Regions from separate parts of the Homo sapiens genome. Here region 2 is linked to region 1. The links are contacts of gene promoters, found by promoter capture Hi-C in blood cells and fetal thymus (Javierre and others, 2016). All regions are on one chromosome and are shown on one strand. The core of a region is centred on a gene start or on the middle of the fragment in contact, and the rest is flanking DNA. Distances in the headings are between cores, read along the strand shown. Region 1 holds the start of MMP20 (matrix metallopeptidase 20). Region 2 holds the start of ANGPTL5 (angiopoietin like 5).

The links. The method cuts DNA at HindIII sites, captures the fragments that hold promoters and counts their contacts. A CHiCAGO score of 5 or more calls a contact.
Region 2: a contact is called between the fragment with the promoter of ANGPTL5 here and the fragment with the promoter of MMP20 in region 1, in 1 of 17 cell types (activated CD4 T cells). The highest score is 5.3, in activated CD4 T cells.

What each region holds. Positions count from the first base shown.
Region 1 is chr11:102,621,916-102,628,503 of GRCh38, reverse strand. It overlaps MMP20 (matrix metallopeptidase 20), which reads left to right and starts at 3,172. Exons shown (of 10, transcript NM_004771.4): 1 at 3,172-3,310. The coding sequence starts at 3,185. The HindIII fragment of the contact is 723 bases long and covers 2,983-3,705 here.
Region 2 is chr11:101,915,272-101,921,176 of GRCh38, reverse strand. It overlaps ANGPTL5 (angiopoietin like 5), which reads left to right and starts at 4,655. Exons shown (of 9, transcript NM_178127.5): 1 at 4,655-5,158. It overlaps CEP126 (centrosomal protein 126), which reads right to left. Exons shown (of 11, transcript NM_020802.4): 1 at 5,765-5,905. The coding sequence starts at 5,892. The HindIII fragment of the contact is 9,032 bases long and covers 38-5,905 here.

The sequences.
Region 1 (6,588 bases), core at 1,923-4,422:
GAATAAGCCTAGGGATCTCCCTGCCAGCCACCTTGAAATACCATGTTCCCAAGTCACTGCTCCACGAAGGCACCAACGTATGCTTCCTGTAACTGTTAAGAACACAGGCTTCAATGTCTAACAGAGCTGTGTGAAAATCCTGGAGCCGTCGCCTTAATATCTATATGAAGTTAACAAATCATTTATCCTCCATGAGCCCATTTCTTCACTTGAAAAACAGCGTGTCACAAAGTTGTGTGAAAAATGTACATAAGGTACTTGGCTACATGTCTGGCATATAATGTGGGTTTAATAAAGGTTCTGGTTTCTTAGGGTGATGCTACACATCTTCATTTGATCCATTATATGGGTTGACTTAAAATTTATCCCTCTAAGGACAATCTTGTTTTTCTTCTTTCTATCTTTAATCATTAATTAATCACTCATTCATACATTCACTTATTCAACAACTGTTTATTTTGTGCTAGGAACTGTTCCATGCACTAGAGACACTGCTGTGAAAAGAATATATAAAGTCCTTACCCTTATGGGACTTACATTCTACTGGTGAAAGACAATAAGCACATAACAACATACAGTATGTCGACGTATACATTTAATGGTGTAATGATTTATTTTTCCCATAACTTATTTAATCAGTGGTATTTTCCCTTTCATATTTCTCTGATAGGATCTCTCATTTCATTTTCTTTTAGTCATTGACTTGCTTTCATGTGATTTTTTAGATTTCAGTGATTTGGGTTTCAATTTAGAGTTGATACAAGAATGATAGAAAGAAAGCAGACCTTTGCTCCCCTGTGAAGAAAGAAAAATCAGGAAAAGGAAATCATAGTGAGGAATTACCAGGCATTTACTCTATTATTCTCTCTCTAGAAAGGTCAAAGATGTTGCCTAGTGCTGACTCTGAGGTGAAATTTAGTCACACTAATATATAAATGACTTATAAGAACATAAATTGTTATTCCTCTTCAAAATTTTTGCACTTGATAATTAAAATGTTGCACTTAGGAACATTGGGATTGATTGCATTTGTGTGTTAGAAAAGTGGATACTGGAACCTTCTATAAGTATGTAGATCACACCCTATAGGCAATTATTAACTTCCATGTGCTTCCAAAAACAGAACCTAGAATACTCTTTAGAGTCCTAGAGGTGAGAATATTTTCTCTCTATTGGTCCCAGAATTTCTTACCGTCATTCCTTCCACTCCAATGTTCACTTCCATGTCTGTCTTTGCTTTGGGGCCATCATAATGAATTGGAACAGTGTTTAAAGGAGAGAAAAAGGGAAGAGGATGACCAGTTGAAGGGAAGTTTCAAAGATTCTTTTTGTTCTTCAATTTTAGCAGCTGTTGAAGATAAGGCTCTAGAAGACAGGAGACCATATAAATGCAAATTTTGAAAAATTATTGCAATATCCTATTCCTTTCCTGAAACCAAAAAGCAATGATTAGTATATGTTTGTACATTCATTCATTCTTTTTTTTTAACAAACTTGATTAAGTAACATTTTTTAGAATACAGTCTTCAAACAGCTTACAATTTAGTTGAATGAATCTAATCTGTGGTTTTCTTTTTTCTTCTTCTGAGACACATGTTTTGTCTATCTCACAGTACATGCCAGAAATTCTGTTTGCCTGTGTGTATTAGTCCATTCTCACACTGCTATAAAGGAATACCCGAGACTGGGTAATTTATAAAGGAAAGAGGCTTAGTTGACTCACAGTTTTACATGGCTGGGGAGGCCTCAGGAAACTTAGAATCATGGTGCAAGGCAAAGGGGAAGCAGGCACCTTCTTGACAAGGCAGCAGGAGAGAGAAGATCAATGGAGGAACTTTCAAACACCTATAAAACCATCATATCTTGTGAGAACTCACTCATTGTCATGAGAACAGCATGACGGAACCACCCCCATGATCCAATCCCCTCCCTCCCTCAACACATGGGGATTACAATTCGAGATGAGATTTGGTTAGGGACACAGAGCCAAACCATATTAATGTGTGACAAACTCTTGTTCAGTGCCTGGGGTTGTACACTAGATACCAAACATTGGCTGTAACTCCACCATCTTCTCTTCCATGCAAAGAAAGCATATCAAAATGCAACAGAGTGAGAAAGACTATAGGAATTCACTGTATTCACTATAGGAATAACCTTGAATTTAGTCTAAAATCAAAATTAGGATTTGAATCCACATCTAGTGGATGCCAAGTGGTGCTTGCAGATGTCATGCTATATGTGTTACTCCATAACACTGAAAAGTTTATACATAGTAGTAGTATTGTCAGTCTTTTGTAGATTAAAAAAAACTTGATATTCAGAGATTAAATGACATACCCAACATCACACAGCTAGGAAATATCTTTTTAAATATTTAGTCTTGCTTTGTCTGACTCTAAGTGCTTTTCCCACCATATGACACCATTTCACCGTATCATCTCTGGATCCAAATCCATCTTAATCAGACCCAGGAAAAACAATATGACTCCAATTAACCAGAGTACACAGAGATTGGGGAGTTCTGGCTATTGTTTTGGTTAACGAAGACGTAACTCTTGCCTTAATTCATCCAAAAGCTTTCTAACAGTTACCAGTTCACTTTCCACCCTAAGTCAGCACAGTATAATGTAATCTTGCCTTGATGATTCAGGATCTTATGTGTCTCAGAGCCATCATTATGAACAGCAGTTGCTACTAAGAAATTTTGAAGTGAATGCAGGAGATACAGGCGATTGGGTTGAATGCATGGGGAGTTTGGGATTACTTGGAGGACAAATTCAATTATACTGTAATCATCTAACTTTTCTGTAATCAGAATGGAAAAAGGCCCCCAAATGAAGACTAATCAAATGTTTCAGTTGAGTTGGGTTCAAATCAATCAAGTTTACTTCAATTTTTGTAACTAGCTGACCAACTTCATTAAAAGTGACTGTTTTTCTCCTTTTGCCACTTGGTAAATAACAAAAAAAATATGAAGCTTTCCCTGATTCCTGTGTACAGTTGTGTTACCCCATCATCAGGGAGAGAAATGAGCTGTATAATTACTGTTTGAGACATGAATCATCCTTGCTCGGAGGGTCCAGACCTGTTTGACTCTATAAAAGGAGCTCAAGGTCGAAGTGCAAACGTGCACTGTCTGCCATCCCCCAGGCTGATATAATTACCAAGCTACTGTGAGGGGATGAAGGTGCTCCCTGCATCTGGCCTTGCTGTCTTCCTCATCATGGCTTTGAAGTTTTCCACTGCAGCCCCCTCCCTAGTTGCAGCCTCCCCCAGGACCTGGAGGAACAACTACCGCCTCGCACAGGTTTGTGAATTTTTGCCCAATTCCTTCTTGCTCCTCTGCCCTAGAAAACCTAAAAGGGCATAGTGAGAAAATAAGAAAAAAATTCTATTGTTCTTTTAAAATCATTTTATATAAGTCCATTGAAGTCTAACTGATGCTATCTTCTGTCCACCTAGATTGGTGTCTGGTGCATATTAGGTGTACCATGTTACATGACTGAATAAATACATGAGGATATATCTACCTAGCTATCTTGCTTCATAAAGAATTCCAGGTGGCTTGTGAAAACCATGCAATATAAAAGGAGCAAACAAGTACTTCCCGGGAATGATGTAGGAGGAAAAATAGAAGCAGAAAAATAAAAACCGAGGCATAATCCACACGCTAGAGGCAGGTTGTGAATTTAGTGCTAAGCTTTAGCGGTCACAACAAGGAGATTTCCTGTGTTTCCACTTTTTAAATGGCTCTTATATTCAAGGTAACCCTGATCAAAATTTAAAGTGGACTAAGTTCTTCCTGGGTGCCAACCCACTTCTCATTTGAAGGCCTTTTCTCCCTAAAGCATATTCCCCAATGAAGTAAAAGTTTATGTACAAAGTACATAACAAAGTTTATGTAGTAAGTACAAAGTACAACGTTTATGTACTTAAACTTTGTGTATTTTCCTCTTTTGAGATCTCTCCTCTATGACTGCTGGAAAGGGTCTGATAGAAATGATCCATATTCAAATATTTCACAAAGACTGCTTGACTCAAAATGATTTCTACATATATATATATATATATATATATATATATATATATATATATATATGCTTCCAAGCGTGTTTTGTTTTTAAAAGAAGGGTGGCATCCTTAACCTAAAGAAATGGATGTCTACGGATGGAATTTCCAACATTAGTGAAAGATATATAGAGGAAATGCTTTTGCACACAGGCCTCCCTTTCAAGAGTCTGCCAACATTACAGCACATCTGTGATCACCAGCTCCGCCTCAGGGCTGCTTTCCTGACTGCCAGGCTGCACCTGTGTACCGCTTGGCTGTCTGCATCGTAGAGCTGATTTGCACCCATGTGCAATGGCATGTCCCTACCGATTGTTTCTGCCACTCATCCTTATTAACTGGTCAGTTCCCCGGCCATACCAGTCATTAAACACTTAAATATCAGCCCCGCAGATGAACAGCACAGCTGATGCCCAGCACAACCATGTTGAACTGAACTTCTTTTGACTTTAGCCCACTTTTAGATGAACTAAATTCAAAATAACTCAGGATACTGGGATCCTTATTCAATTGTATTTTGTCCATGCCACCTAGCTTTAGGTGCCTTCTTCCCAAATGTAATTTTCCCTACCCTGCCTCATGCCACTGTGATTCTGAAACTAAAGAGGTTTTGTGACCTCCAGAAGGAGAGCCATGCTGAGGCCAGAATGGATCTGAGGTGTTGGGAGACCCCCCTTCTAATCCACAGTTCAGGAAAACTACAGTTGGCCCTGCCCCTTAGTTTACAGATTGTCTATGATTGCTTTTGTGCCACAATGGCAGAGGTTAGCCTAGAAGCAAAGAATATTAATTATTGGTCCTTTGCAGAAAAAATTAGTCACCCCTGACCAGTCTATTAAGGAATAAGGCTAGACCAGCCAAGCACCAGTTTCATAGAAGACAGTTTTTCATGGACGTGGGAAGTAGGAGGCTGGAGGGGTGATGGTTTTGGGACGAAACTGTTCCACCTCAGATCATCAGGCATAAGATTCTCAAAAGAGCATGCAACCTAGGTCCCTCACACATGCAGTTCACAATAGGGTTCTGCTCCTATGCGAATCTGATGACTCTGCTGATCTGACAGGAGGCAGAGCTCAGGAAGTAATGCTGGCCCGCCACTCACCTCCTGCTGTGGGGCCAGGTTCCTAACAGGCCACAGACTGGTTTCCGGGTGCAGCCCAGGATCAGGGGACCCCTGGGCTAGACACTCTTGGGTGGAGTCACTCTTGCTATTCTAGCTGGTCAGGAGTCAGCTAGGCACGTTTAGAAACAGTAGCATGGCCTGGGAATATTGGGGACCTTTAGTGATTCCTTACTTCTTCCTCTCCAAAATAAATCAACCCTTCTCTGTCTCCCTTATGACATACTCTCAGAAAGACCTTAGACCAAGGAGCAGGGAAACTTGTCCACATCTCCTCACCTGACACACAGCACCTTTGCTTGCAATGGCCCTGGTCCTCAGCTCTGGGCAGGGACACTCAGGAGCCTGGAATGATCTGGCTGAACCTCTAATGAGGATCACAATGACAGGAAACAATTATTTAATAACATCCCACCTTATAATTTATAGAAACATTATATAACAACCTCATCAGCCTCATAAAATCACAAACAAAAGCAGTAAAATAGGCAGCATAAGTTCATGTATTGAATGCTTACAGCATGGCATATGCTGGAGAAATATGAGAGAATCAAACAAATCAAGCCCCTGTTCTTATGCTCCTTCCATGAGGATGAGGGAGCTGGTGGGAAGGTGCTGGGAGAAGATAAACAAGTCAACCAATGAGTGCACAAGATGTTTCAGAAAGTGATCAGTGAGCCTGGAAAGAAGTTAATCAGGATGACAGAGTGTTGCTGACTGGGACAGTGGTCTGGTGAGGGAGTATTTTTAATGGCGTAGTCCAGGAAGTCCTCTCGGAGGAAGTGAACTTTGAGATGAACCTGAGCTGCATGAAAGAGCCAGTCACGTGAAGACCTGGAGATGGGGCAGTCCAGACGGAGGAAACAGCAGCTGCTTGGAATGCAATCATCAGGCCCATGTGACTAGAGCTCAGAGGTCAGGAAAGAGGGTCCCAGAGGAGTCCCAAGGACAGGTGAGGCCAGCAGGTCCTCTGGTGCCTGGTGGCCTGGGTCACGCTAAGCAGAGAGAGTGCTTAGGGATGCTCTCTTCTTGCTAAGTGATCTGTTAGGTCACTCGCTAAGAAAGAACAAATGGCTCCTGGAAACACCAGAGAGGCCACGTTTCCAAACACCATACACCTCTCCCTCCCCTAAAAAATCTACACTTGAAAAGATAAACAGCTTCTTGATTTATTTAATGTCCACTTGTGTCCTTTAAATTCTGATTTGCTAATTTGCCTAAATGCTTTGAAAATGGTAAGATGGCAAAATGCTTACCTATTCTCATAATCCAGGATTTTATTCTGGGTTTGTTTGTTTGTTAAACAAAATTAGTGTCAATATGACATTTAAAACATACTTTTTAAATTATGCTTAAAAATAAAAATTTTAACTACCACATTATTATGAACTCATAAC
Region 2 (5,905 bases), core at 3,406-5,905, 710 kb after region 1:
GGAAAACTATGTATAGTCATCTGTGTATCCAGAAGCTTGTCAGAGAAAAAGAGGAATATTTTGGTTATCCTAATCATCTATTCACTTGAAATTTATTTTATAAAATTAAACTCTCCTTAAATAAGTTGTAGCAATATGAGTAATTTCTCCAATTTATTTAGTTGCGTTTTAATTGACATTATTAAGTATCTTTATCAAATTTGTCAGAGTAATTTTCTGTTTTTCATGAGTCTTCTGTTTTTAATGATTTTGAATTAAAAGAAGTTCATTTGGCTGGGCGCAGTGGCTCACACCTGTAATCCCAACAATTTGGGAGGCCAAGGTGGGCAGACTGCTTGAGCCCAGGAGTTTGAGATGAGCCTGGGCAATATGGTGAAACCCCGGCTCTACAAAAAATGCAAAAATCAGCCAGGTGTGGTGGTGTATGCCTGCAGCCCCAGCTACTTGGGAGGCTGATGTGGGAAGATCGCTTGAGCTTGGAGGGGGTTGAGTCTGCAGTGAGCTAAGAACACGCCACTATACTCCAGCCTGGGCAACACAGCGAGACTCTGTCTCAAAAAAAAAAAAAAAAGTTCATTGAATTACCGTGTAATCACATTTAGTACCTCATCATTAGATGTAGAAATATATGAGATTATACTGAAGTTATAGATTGTAGGGCATATCTATTTGTCTTTTTTAGAACAAACAGCTTGTTTAAAAACTTTTTACGCTAAGATGGAGGTCCAAAATTCTCTTTAAAGGCTGCATTTAATCAAGATTGTAAAAATCTCATAAATTGATTATTAATGGTAAAACAGAATACTAGAAATACACTCAATAATAAACTATGCGGTACATAATTTGTTAATTCAACATGTTAATTTCAGGATCCTATAGTGCTTCAGCATCAATATTATAAAGAAACTCTATTATTACATATTTCAGAATAACAGGTTTATTTGAACATTTTGTTGTTTAGACCTTTGCTGATGGGGGCTTATTTGTTTTCTTTTGTGTTGCTATTTAACCATCTTTATACCATAGGCCATAATTCATTTTACCTTCATTTTAAATAAAATTTTACACTACTTCAAGACAAAGACCCAAACACACTCACAAACATATTTTTACTTAAAGATTTCTTTTAAAGGATTTATAAAAATCAAACCAAAAGGGAAGAAAATTTGGTTCTTTGCTAGCACAGAAAAACTGTTTTTCTCTGATAGAATATTTTAACAAGAGCCAGACTTCAACAAGATGTCTAGGTATTAAAAGTGACAACTCGGCAGTAAAGAAAAGTGCAACTTCCTTTCAGGGTGCACAGGGCCAACATGAGGTTGAGGGGAGGAAGATGCTTTGGCTTAAGTGAGAAGCAAGGAGGAGACAGTTCTGTTCTCTGTTTGACATGTTTGAAGTCTCATCACGACAGCATAAAGAAAATCACAAATGTAATGTTTGTAATGTTCTGACAACTATATAGTCTTCAATTTAACCAAATGATTTTCTACTTTCTTTATATATAAGTATAATAGTATAGTATGTTTCCTGCTGAATTATTAATTATTAATATAAAGAATCCTGCTGCTTTTGTATCATTTCAAATATGGTATTCAAGTTTAAAAAAATTAGATGGCTGGTTAAATTTTGTTTTTTTATACAAGCTGTATGGTAAAGGTAGGAGTTCCATAAAAAAAACACTGCTAAATACCTGTCCAAAAGAAGGGAATTTTTATATACTTAACATTAAAAAAACAAAACCAAGAATAATATGTATTGTAACATGTGATTTTAAAGCATAGCTTATTCTACCCCACTCTATCCTCACTTCTCCTCTCCCAACTTAGTCTTTTATCCAGTTAGGTTGTTTAAAATGTTGCCATCACAAATAACTATGTATTATATAACCCATTTTTTCCCCAAATCTATTAAAGCTATGTTGATTCGATTTTTCCTCTACTGTACCTTCTTCCTCTCCCTTAACTCAGGTACTCTAAATCCCTTGCTTGGACGACTACAGTGCTCCTCTAATTCTTCTTACTCTAAACCTCTATTTGAACCTACACAAAGTCAGCTAAATGCAAATCTGATTGTGTTTCTCTTTGTTGTTCTCCAAAAGCTCCCTATCACCTTCATGAAAAATTCCAAAGTTCTTGGACCTATATATAAACCATTCTATAATATAGTTTGTTTTTTCAACTTTATTTCTTAACATTTCCCTGTATGAATCCTATGTCCAGACGCACTAAGATAATTATAAACAGAACAACCCGTGATGTATCATACCATTATCTCTTGGCACATGCTTGGCTAACTCTACTCATCCTTTCAGGGCCATCTCAAGCAGTTCGTTCTACCTTGAAGCCTTTTCTAACCTCCACTAGATGACTTGATGACACCTTCATGAGTACATGATAAGTGTCTTCTCTACATTTCTGTAACTCTCACGCCTGGCATGGTTCTTAGAATATAGTAATGATTTAATAAAAACCTCCTGAATTATTCCCTTGGAGAAAATTCTCTGGGGTAGATATGAGGACAAAAGGCATATGCATTTTTATATCTTTTAGTGCATTATAGAAAACTTGGCTCCTAAGGGGGTTATACAAAAGTATATGCCATTAGAAATGTATTATGTACCTAAGTTTCAAAATCTCATGAGCATGGGGCAGTACCTTTTAGAAACACAAGGTACAAAACTATGTTTTATTATGTATGTATTAGCAAAATACAATTTATTTATTTATTTATAGACAGGGTCTCACTCTGTTGCCTAGGCTGGAGTGCAGTGGCATAATCTCGGCTCACTGCAACCTCCACCTCGCAGTCTCAAGCAATCTTCCTGCCTCAGCCTCTTAAGTAGATGGTACTACAAGCATGCACCACAACACACAGCTAATTTTTGTATTTTTTGTAGAGATATGGTTTCACCACGTTGCCCAGGCTGGTTTCGAACTCCTGGACTCAAGCAATCTGCCTACCTCGGCCTCCCAAAGTGCTAGGATTACAGATGTGAGCCACTGGGCCCAGCTGAATGGGTTCACTTCACTTTCTATAGTAAAAGTAAGATCCCATCAGTGAGCCTGGGGGGAAAAAAAGACAGGTGGGTGGGAGTGTGTGTGTTTGTGCTGTTTGTTGGAACAGACCTGTCAGGGCATCCAAGTCTTATCAAGTGGTAAGACAGTCTATCGAGTGTGATGGAAGGTGACAGAGACCTGGCAGAGGCATTCATAGGAAAAAGAAAGAACCCTGTTCCTGTTTAGGTGAAGCTGGAAACCATCAATCTTTAGTGGTACAATCTGTATTGTTTTGTGATTTTTCTTTGACAGCATTTTTATTATTCGCATGAAGGAGTAAAGGAGCAGGACTATAGTAGTTATTGAGTGGCTGAGGCAGAATGATTGGGGTACAAATAGCCAAAGATGTTGGTGAGAGAAAGTTCAAATAGTTAAGAATAGGGTATAAACTGGAGAGGAAAGGAGAGGCAAGGTGGGTGCTAGGATAAAATGGGAGGGTTGAAGGGTAGAGATATTTATGAGGAAAAAAAGGCAGGTATAAGGGGACATGAGAGACCTTCCTTTTTTTTTTTTTTTTAAATTCCATTTCTATTTGAACTCTCAAAAGAGAAAAAGAGATTGAAATGACAGAACTTTAGCTAATTTTAATTAAATAAACTTCATAAGGTTTTGTTGTTTTATAACCTTTAGAGTCAGAAAATTCTGACTCCAGTGAGAAAATGTCTTCAACAGAAAGCCAGATGGCCTCTGAGTATCATGTTCATATTTGAAATTGAAATGTAAATGTTACCACATACTTGCTTATTTTAAGGCTGTGGTCCTTTCATTTGCTTTCTTTCCTTTTTTTCATTTAGTCATGTAAATTTGAGCACCTACTCTGTGCTAGGTATCCAATGGGAAACATTATAGACACAAAGAACATTCCAATTAAACTTATATAAAAGGTACTTTAGTGTTTTTCCAGCTAGCAAACATAATGTTCTTGATTTAGTGTTATAATCTTTATTATGTTCAAAAATAATTCCTCTGTTCCAATTTAAATATATATTATCTAAACATATATATACACACATATGCAAACTAGCAAAAATATATATAAACCAGCACACACACACACACACACACACACACACACACACACACACACACACATTGTTGGATTTTATCAAAGTCTATTGGTCATCTATTAAAATGTTCATTTATAACTTGCCTAATTTTAACTATATATTTAGCCTTTAAGGATCTTTTTTAGTGTTGTATTTCTTTATAGGAAATGTCATTCTAATTCTGGAATAGAGTCTATTTGGTTGTGTTCATTCAAAGTATTGCTGGATTCTATTTATGAATATTTTCTTTGGCATTTGTATCAAAAATTTATACCACATAAAATTTAAAAAATGAGGCCTACAACCATTTTATTAATGAAAATAACAGAAAATACACTCTCAATGAGCCATTTACAATACTTCCCTATTTTCTGATTTAGAGATAAATCAGGGTCGTGTAATAGCAGTTGTGTCCAAGAAAATATAATGTCAAGAGGCCAGAATTAAATCCATACAGAAAATGATTGTGTTCATTTCAGAGTAACCTTTAAGAGGGCAATTTTGGGGAGCAGCAAGGGCAAAAGCCAAACTGAATGGGGTTAATAATGAATAGATGAGAGGAACTAGAAGCAGCTATTGCAAGCTACCATTTTGAGAACCTGCCCAAAGAAAGAAAAGACTGAAGGGATGGAAGATTGCAGAAAGCATGATCGGAGAAGAGATATTTTACTTTTAGTGAAGCTCTATACACATTTGTCTTCCTCACTAGATTTGTATCCCTAGAACCTAGAACAGAGTCAGCCAAAGAGCAGGCACTCAATACAAATTGTTGACTTGCTGCTAAAATTGTAACAGAGTACAAAGAACATCCTAGAAATTGGAGACAAAGGGGATAAGAAAACAGAGTTAACTTGGAAAGAGAAGACACTCATCTCTGACAAGACTGAAGATGATTACACAACACCATCATTGCCAACCAAGTCCTTTGGGAATACAAAGGTTAAATCCTAATCATCACAACAGTCTCTAAAGGAATAAACCTGATTTACAGATTTTGATAACAAAATACTTCTCCTCTTTCCATTTTCTACAATGCAACCAACAGCAACATCAAAGGTAGGCTTAACCAACTCTTCGAGAAAAGTCAGAGTTAATCCAGATTGTAAAGCGTCCAGGTCCCCTGTTTCTCATTTCCTCTTTTCTGTCGCTCTGACAACAGACTGGGCAGAGATGGAAAACAAAACAACTTACCAAACTGTGTAGCCTTTAGCAGCTCTGGTAAATGCATTTAGGGCTGTGTTAGGATAACTGTTAAAACGGACTCTTTAGGATAGCAAAACATTTTACTTATTTGTGTAATTTCTCTCTCCAAGTAGTACGATAAATCAGGAAGTAGTTAATATGTAAGTAAAGAACATAATGGCATAAAAATATCCCCACAGAATACACAGTTGATGTGTTTTAAAATTCACAAAAATTTTACAAAGTTGAAGAATGGGAGTAGGATAACAGGGTGATGGGGGGAAGCAGCCACAGAATTAGATAAAATGGTATAATTTCAGGTCTAAGGTGAGACACGACAGTTGCTAAAGGAAATATCTGCACTAAGATGACTTGCTAGTTTTGATCACCCTGCGTCAAAGGTAATGGGAATCTAATTGGAAAAAGATGGGCCCCGTTTTCAACATCGCTACCCTGGCAGCCACAGGCTGGGAAGGATACAGGTAAGAGCCAGGTCGGTGATGCCCGCCGCTCTCCCGAGGGCCGAGGGGGGCTCTGTCGAGGTTGTCCGATGATTCAGTGCCCAGTTCCCCGACCGCGCTCCGGGTTCCGGGCCTCCCCGCCAGCATCCTTCACTTCAGC